3 separate regions of the Homo sapiens genome follow, and regions 1 and 2 are each linked to region 3. Evidence: promoter capture Hi-C in 16 types of primary human blood cells and fetal thymus (Javierre and others, 2016). All regions are on one chromosome and are shown on one strand. The core of a region is centred on a gene start or on the middle of the fragment in contact, and the rest is flanking DNA. Distances in the headings are between cores, read along the strand shown.

What was found. Contacts are between HindIII fragments. The CHiCAGO score rates a contact against its expected background, and 5 or more counts as called.
Region 1: a contact is called between a fragment that was not itself captured here and the fragment with the promoter of LYSMD3 in region 3, in 5 of 17 cell types (total CD4 T cells, naive CD8 T cells, non-activated CD4 T cells and 2 more). The highest score is 9.3, in total CD4 T cells.
Region 2: a contact is called between a fragment that was not itself captured here and the fragment with the promoter of LYSMD3 in region 3, in 1 of 17 cell types (endothelial precursors). The highest score is 5.5, in endothelial precursors.

What each region holds. Positions count from the first base shown.
Region 1 is chr5:91,310,617-91,313,316 of GRCh38, forward strand. It overlaps LUCAT1 (lung cancer associated transcript 1), which reads right to left. Exons shown (of 5, transcript NR_103548.1): 3 at 2,462-2,613. Among named protein-coding and RNA genes, the nearest start is that of LUCAT1, 2.4 kb to the right of the region's middle. RefSeq lists enhancers at 660-1,859, 1,222-1,766. The HindIII fragment of the contact is 1,433 bases long and covers 649-2,081 here.
Region 2 is chr5:89,929,962-89,932,661 of GRCh38, forward strand. All of the region lies in intron 2 of LOC102724637 (a long non-coding RNA gene), which reads left to right. Among named protein-coding and RNA genes, the nearest start is that of MIR3660, 85 kb to the right of the region's middle. The HindIII fragment of the contact is 1,042 bases long and covers 852-1,893 here.
Region 3 is chr5:90,528,274-90,530,973 of GRCh38, forward strand. LYSMD3 (LysM domain containing 3) reads right to left here and starts at 1,311. Exons shown (of 3, transcript NM_198273.2): 1 at 1,175-1,311. RefSeq lists enhancers at 582-1,082, 1,708-1,967 and a silencer at 1,348-1,597. The HindIII fragment of the contact is 4,420 bases long and covers 1-2,408 here.

The sequences.
Region 1 (2,700 bases), core at 115-2,614, 780 kb after region 3:
TCTTTCTTTCTTTTTTTTTTTTTCTGAGACAGAGTCTCACTCTGTTGCCCAGCCTGGAGTGCAGTGACATGATCTCAACTCACTGCAGCCTCCGCCTCTCGGGTTCCAGCGATTCTCCTACCTCAGCCTCCCAGGTAGCTGGGATTACAGGCACGCACCACCATGCCCTGCTGATTTTTGTATTTTTAGTAGAGATAGGGTTTCACCATGTTGGCCAGGCTGGCTTACGAACTCCTGACCTCAGGTGATCAGCCCGCTTAGGCCTCCCAAAGTGCTAGGATTACAGGCGTGAGCCACCGCACTGGCCGTAATTTCTTTTCTCTTCCTTTCTCTGCTTCTTTCTTCTCTTCTTCTCTCCCTTCTTCCTTTCCTTCCGCCCTCCTTTCTTCCTTCTCTCCTTCTTTCTTTTCATGTATCTATTCAACAAACAAGTATTTAGAGCAGGAGTGTTCAATCTTTGGTTTCCTTGGGCCACATAGAAGAATTGTCTTGGGCCACACATAAAATACATGAACACTAACAATAGCTGATGGACTAAAACACATACACACAAATCTTATAATGTTTTAAGAAAGTTTACAAATTTGTGTTTGGCTGCATTCAAAGCCATCCTGGGCCACATGTGGCCCGTGGGCCTTGGGTTGGACAAGCTTGATTTAGAGCCTCCTTTATGCAACGCCAGGTGCTAGATGCTGGGGCTGCATGGTGAACAGAGGAAGGCCCCTGCCCCGGGAGACACAGCTTGATTCCCTTATGGTGTAGAACACATGAGCCATGAGGTCAGGAGCTGTGGGGTCTTGTTCACCACTGTACCCTCTACCCCTACCTAGCACAGCACATGGCAATAAGTACATGCTCAAAAATACTCTGAGTGAGTGAATACAAGTTGAGTGCTGCCACACTGATTAAAGGGTGCTCTTGAAGTCCCTCAGCTGGTAAATGCCACCCTGCAGACTGCCCAAGTTCCCCTCAGGAAAAACAGAACCAGTGTACATTCAGATCTTAAGAGTGGTCATCCGGAATACGTACCTTATGAAAAAGTAAGGATATTCAGGTTCAGTAATGATATACTTGGTTTGCAAATAACACACGTTCGTTTTCATGTTGCTAAAGACTCCTTGCTAGGAAACGAAACACTTGTAATTTAATATGCAATGTTCTCAAGAGTCTGAGGCCAAACCACCTCAAGCTGTGAATGCCTTGGCTCTGAAGAGCCAGTCAGGGTCAGGGCAGGGCAGCACTTGGCCTGATGCTCCTCCAGAATAAACCAAACAGCCACAGGAAGTGGTTTCTGTGATTCAGTAGGTGGCACACTTCCTTTTGAGTCAGAACTGAATCACAGCTGTGAGAGGCGAAAAATACCTATTTCTTTATCCCATACTTTTTCCCTATTCCCAGTGGTAAATTTATCACAGACTGTCATATAATGTATCCTGTTTAGTTCCGCGTATTTAAGCAAACAAAAAAAATTTGGCAAATCAACTACGGGGAGGCAAGAAAGGAGGGGAAAACACAGCCGACTGGAATTAATCCAAACGTCATTATGTCGTCACAGGGCCATATTCTCAGAGGTGATTGAAAGAATTGCCACAGTGATTTTGCTGGGGTCATTCAGGCCCCTGGTTCTCTCAACTGGAGTCTGACCCATTTCCAGTGAAAGCAGTTAGATCACACTTACATAAACTGTGTTGCTTCAAATGGGCCTGCCCTCCTCTTCACTCACTGACCCTGGCTTGCTTCTTGGCATGTCTGCTGGAAGGCCATTCTCTGTCTGTCCCAGGCATGGCCCTAGTTCAGCTGCGGGTGAAATTATCCTGTTCTGAATGTACTGAATGCTGCTGGCAATGCTGTAAATTGTTGTGAGGCTTAAGGAAAAACCCTGTAGATATCAACAAGTCATAAAAACAGGCGTATTTTCTCTTCGTCTCTTTCCCACTGTGTGTTTTATTCTTCAATATTAACAGTTCTGGGAATGTAAATGTATTTAACTATATTTTCCTCTGATGAACTAGATTTTAGTATATAATTTGTGGCTTCCTTCCATACCAATTTGTTCATATTGATAGCATGCTTCAGAACAAAGCTTCAGAGCTCAGGCTATACATCCTATAACACTCTTGGAAGACCAGTAACCAGACTGGAACCAGAAATCTTATTGCCATGTTAATATGTCATTTTCCTTCTGTGAAATATTCCAATAATGTAAAGAATGCAAGATTCAAAGTCACATAGACCCATGTACACGTTCAATCTACACCAAAGTTTGTGGAGCTGTGTGACCTTCAATAAGTCTCTTAACCTCTCTGAGCCATAATTTCCTCAGTCTGAAAAATGGGATGCTAACATAAGGCCAACATTACAGTGAGAACTAAATAAAACTTTTACATAGTGTCTAGGACAGCTCCTAGCTCATATTTAGTGTTTAAAATAAGCCTCTGATCTTTCTCTTTATTTACAATACCTTTTCATTGGGAGATGAGGACAGCATTTGGACACAACTGTACAGGCACGCTAAGTCTCATCCTTCCAAAGACGTCAGTCACATTCAGCCCCTTTAGCAGTTTCATCAACAGCATGTATAGCACATGTGATAGCAAACAGCAAGTTGGATTCCTTAATAAAGCAGTAAAGAAGGTCAGCCAGGATGTAGGCTTTAAAGCCAAGGCCAGCTCTTCTGGGCAGGACAGTTGTGGCTGATGT
Region 2 (2,700 bases), core at 123-2,622, 600 kb before region 3:
AAACCTTAAGACAGAAGTGTTATTATTCTGCATTAGTAGATGAGGTAACCAAAGACCAGAGCTCTTAAGCAATTCCTAGAGTTGCACAGTGGGAGACTGAGCTTTCAACTCAGTATTGTCTCGCTATAAAGATGGAGTTTTTCCAATAATGCAATGCTCTCCTTCTTCTTCTTCTCCTTCAGTGAATTACCATGTCTCTTATATTCTCTCATTCACAAGTATAGGAGTGATCAACAATTCTGAAATATCAATCTCCTTAAAAAAAGTGCCCATCTTGTTTATATTTAGTTACTTCTAGAAGAACTATACTTCAAATTGCTTGAAATGTCTACAAGAAATTTTGAGTGTGATGTTAGTAAACAGCAATCCTTGCACATATCACTGGCTGTAAATATGAACCATAAATTCCTCACTTAAACATATAAAATCAAGCATGGAATTAGGTTATTCAAAGAGGCAAGTCTGTGACAATATTATTTACTATCTTATTTGCAAGGATCACATCTTCTAAAAACTAACTGTTGTATGTTTGTCTTTAAAGAGGTCTATAGATAAAGGCAGTGATTTTCTGAATACATCAAAACCCTCATAGCATTCCTGAGGATCTACTGATTAACCCAGTAGGATATTAATTATGAACACATCTGCCATTCTTACTTTTTGTTCTTTTCCTTTAAATAGGAGTGGAGTAATTCAGACATGTGTGTATGATTAGGTGTAGCTAGCAGTGCATGATGAGCTAGATTTAGATACATTTATGAAGCATCAAATACAATGAAACAGTTTACTGGAAAACAAAACTTGTACTGGAGATTGGAACTCTTAAAGCAGGAGAAAGTTGTTTTTAAAAAAGCTTAACCTTAAATAAAACACATATGTGGTGGGTGAATGTGAAAGAATATACAGCTTCATTGTTTCTCGAGAACAAAAGTATTTATAGTTCTTCCGCTTTGTGACTCATCTCTCTGCTGTAAAATATTTGGGCTATTACTCATAATTACAAAAAAGGCATCGAAGAGAATGGCTTGACGTTAGTGCAAAGGACAAGGTGAACAAACTGGCATTTTATTTGTGACATTCTCATTTATAAGAAGTTGGACAATCTGTTTTTTGACTGCTTTCTTTCTCTGCAAAAATGACTATAATATAGCACTTAAAATAAATGATAATTCATGTGCCTCTAATCTAAAACGATCAAAACAGGCAAGATGCAAACAAGACACAGAGAGTGCAAAGAATGCAGCATACTGCAATAAATTCCCCTTATATTTATTTAACAATAAATATGCAAATTTGAGATAATTATGAAGACATGTGCTTTGAGGAGCAGAGAGACTACTCAAAAGGTATTTTGTTCAATCATCCTTTTTCTTTTGAGCTAAGATGAGAACCAGAAGGAAACAGATATAATAACAAAAATGGAGTAAGTATTGATCATGGATGAGAAGACTGAGATAATATAAAACCTCTAACTCAAAAAGCATTTTTTTCTGGTAGATGAAACTAAGTGATTCTAAATAATAACTTATTAGTAGAAAACAATTAATTTTATAGCCTTTTAATGGTCCTTTTAAGGGAGTAGTACACTCCAAAGTGAAGTTAATCCTCCACAACGATATTAGTTTTTCTTAAAGAAAATGCTAATTAATAAATAGTTGCTCTGAACCATTTAAAGAATAGAGAAAAAATGTCAAAATGTTACTAACTTCCCGGGAACACAATTTTAATATTGTTTTTCATGAGAATTACAGATTTTTGCATTACTTACTCTTGACTACAATGAGTATTGCATTTGATCAATTATATTTCTAATATTTTGCCATTAATTTTTTCCTCTTCCAGAAAGATGGTATTTAGCCAAATTCTTAGACTTCCTATTCATTCTAAAGGACAAGCTTTCATTAATGTACAAAGGGGCCACTCTTTAATGGCACAGAATACTAGAAAAAGCTCATTCTGAAATATTGTTAGGTAGCTGTTATAGACTAGAATTGTATTAAGGGTGCATATCACATATCCATATCAAAATATATAAAATACATACAGCAGGATTCCTTCAACATGATGAACTATCACTGGATAATGGCTTTATCTCCAACCATCTCAATCGTGGGTATTACAATGAAATCTGAAAAAGGTGAAAAGCACTGTCAACCTTTCTTAATATTGTTGGAAAATGCTGGCGTATTAGAGCTTAAGTGGTTCTTGAAGAAGTCTGTGTGTGTTATCTGGAACAGCCAGATGATTCTTTGCTGTGTGGGGCTGCCCTGTTCATTGTAGAATGTTTATCAATATCCCTGGCGTTCGTACACTAAATGCCAGTAGCACTAGCACCACCCATCCCCCACTCCACCCCATTTTTGAAAATAAAAATTGTATCCAGACATTGAAAATCTCCCCTGCAGGGCATTGAGAACTAGGGATGTAGATGATTTCAACTTTTCTCTCACTAGCCTCATTGTCTCTTCCAAAATCTATATTAAGACACACATCAATTCTTTAATTTATGATATGGCAAACATTCTGAATTAATAAAGTGATTCATTGCAAAGATCAAATTAAGGATATGATCTTTTAATTCAAGCCTAATAGCCTTAAGATAGCCACCATAAAATTGAGAGAGAAGAAGGTATTAGGAGCAAAGACATTTAGCAAATTAAAGGACAATGTCTAAAAAGAAATCTGGGGTGGACTTCTGGA
Region 3 (2,700 bases), core at 61-2,560:
AGACTTAATATACAGCAATTTACACTTGGCTATACCGACCTACTTATGTGTCTTGTTAGACAGTTTCACCCTAATAATTTGTACTTAGAACTTCAAAATTGGCTTAGTAGTGCAGCTAACTGAAAATCACTAAGCAATGCCCCAAAGCCATTTTAGATACTTGTTTCTATCAACCTCTCTCCACGATATATTTCTAAATATAATTTAAAGGTCAGAACTTCACCTGTCTCACTATCTCTCCACTCCCCTTTATAATGAAATGCAGGCAGCTGACTATCGTGTTACAAATCTGGGTATTCTGAATGATCAAGAACTGGCTGTGTCTTCAACCGAAGTGAACAGACTGACCCAGGCGATCACTCCAGTCTACTACTCAGAGATTAGAAAATACATAATATTTAAGTCATCTGGCTCAATTCTATTCACCTCTCTTAATTCTCTTAGAGCAGGAAAAAGGCACGAACTCCCTTTCAGAAACTTGGAACAAGCCTGCGTGCTACCTAGATTACGAGGGGCCACAAAACAGTGTTAAAGCATTCTTCAGCTCAGTCTGTAACTGAAAACGGTTTCCCAAACACCTTCGTACTGTAGAATGGCTGCTGGGTGTTTCGCCTTGACCTTCTTTAACTAAGCAAGGTGCAATAAGAGGGTCACAGGGCACAAGTTAAAGCTGCAAAGGGACAGAATCAAAGGCACCCTATCCGCTGCCAGGGACAATTTTGTTTTTTAAAACTTAACTACCTCCTCCCTCTGTATTCCACACGTCAAGTTTTTCTTTCCCTGCTATCGTCAGCGAAGATTACGTCTCAGAGTCTTCTGTCACAGCATGACACTTGAACGATGTGACAAGATGCCGTCAGCGAATATTTCACGCCAACATAAAGTCGTGGGAGAAATGCTGTGTTTGGGTGGGAAATTAGCTGCCCAGGTAATCCAGCAGGTAGGCGTCCTTCCTCTGAGCCTCAGTTTCCCCGACAGTGTGACAAGAGGGCCTGGCAGGGCTGGTCTGGAAGTTCTTCCCTGTCTCGGGGGTGTCCGCCACACGGGCCGAGCCCGGCCCTGCAGCCCCCACCACACCTGTGGCCGAGGCTCAGCGCCTCCCGTGAGGACGCAGCTGGGGCTCAACCCCGCCCTCCTGGACCGGGCTACCCTCACCTCCTGCCACCATCTTTACCTGTCCCCGTTAGCAGGGAGCACTCTGCGAGAAGATGGCCAAAAGGTCCGCCGCCGCCGCTGTCCCGGGTAAGTTCATGGCCGAGCCTCTGCTTTGGGCTGACCCCGTCCGCCTCCGCCTCTGCCGCCAACGTCTCCGCCTTCCGGGCCGTACGCCGCCGCCACGTCCGCAAACCTGAGATGCGTCATCGCGTCAAGTGGGCGGAGGTGGGAAGGGGCGGGGGAGGACGCGGAGGGCAGCCCAAAACGGGGGAGTCCAACCACAGGTCCACGCCCGGCACGCAGGCGCAGGGACTCCTCCGGGGCCCGGGGGCGGGTCCAATCCCCGGGCCCGGGGGCGGGTCCAATCCCCAGCCCCGCCCTTGACTCCGCTCCTTCCGTGCCGCTTCACTCCCCGAGGAAAAGATTTGGTGGCCAAGTCAGCGGATCCAACCCGCGACCACCAGCGACCTACTGGCTGCGTCTTTGTCCAGCGTCCACACTGCGCTGGCAGAGACTGTCGGGTGCACCCTGAGGACGAGGCGTGGCTCAGGATGTGTCGGGGAGCTGTCTTGCATTTTTTTCTTGCTGTGCATCTCGAATTTTCTTTAGGGTGGGAAAGGACACCTCAAAAACACTGTTGACATCACGGTTTCAGAAAATTGCGCCATGTTTGTTACCCTTTTCATGCTGAAGACTCCAGACTGCTGCAGAAGAGGCAGAATTCTGGAGAGAAATCCTTGGGGGACCGAGGACGAGGGTTGGAGGGGGTTGTCTCACCCTTCCTGTTTTTAGGTGAGGGAAGTGAGCCACCTAGAGTCAGGCCCCAGGAAATGTTTTCCCTGGCTCGAGGAGTCAAGGGAGTCAACAAATTGTAATCTAACTTATTTTGGTTTGAAAATTAACTGAGTCATTGGTAGTCACCATTGGACTCTATGGAATATTAGCTTATTAAATAAACTCATGACTTCATACATGATTTTTATCACAAATGTGTTAAATGAGTATCATAATGTGTTTGAATTTATGTATGACTTTGGCAAAAGCCGCAACTACTTTTGCACCAACCTAATTAATGAATGTAAAGCATTTTAATGAGTCTGATGTCTCTCAGTGTTGATATTAGAGACGTTGCACTTTGACAACCATGCTAACTGTTACGACAATATCCATTTTAGGCACAAATAGCTGGGGTGCAGGGTGCAGAGCAGTGCTTTTCAGAATGTCTGAATATTTATACATTAGAAAGCCTTTGAAGCTTGGTTTTAAATTGTTTTTCAAAGAGTATGTTTTTGGTTTTCTGGTAAGTGCCTCTGCAAAGGTTAGGAGTTTTGCATTGCAATAGTTTTCTTTTATTAGCAGGGATAGGCACTGTGCTTCCCAGCGCCACAAAAAAAAACTGCAGGAGAAGACTTTTTTAAAAAGTTTGTCTGAATTGTTCTGTGTGTTGTTGCCCTCATGACACCCCTGTCTGTAACCATTTATCACTGAGACGTTCTCTCATCAGCAGACAAAGGATATATTCCCTGCTTGATATGTAGGACTTCG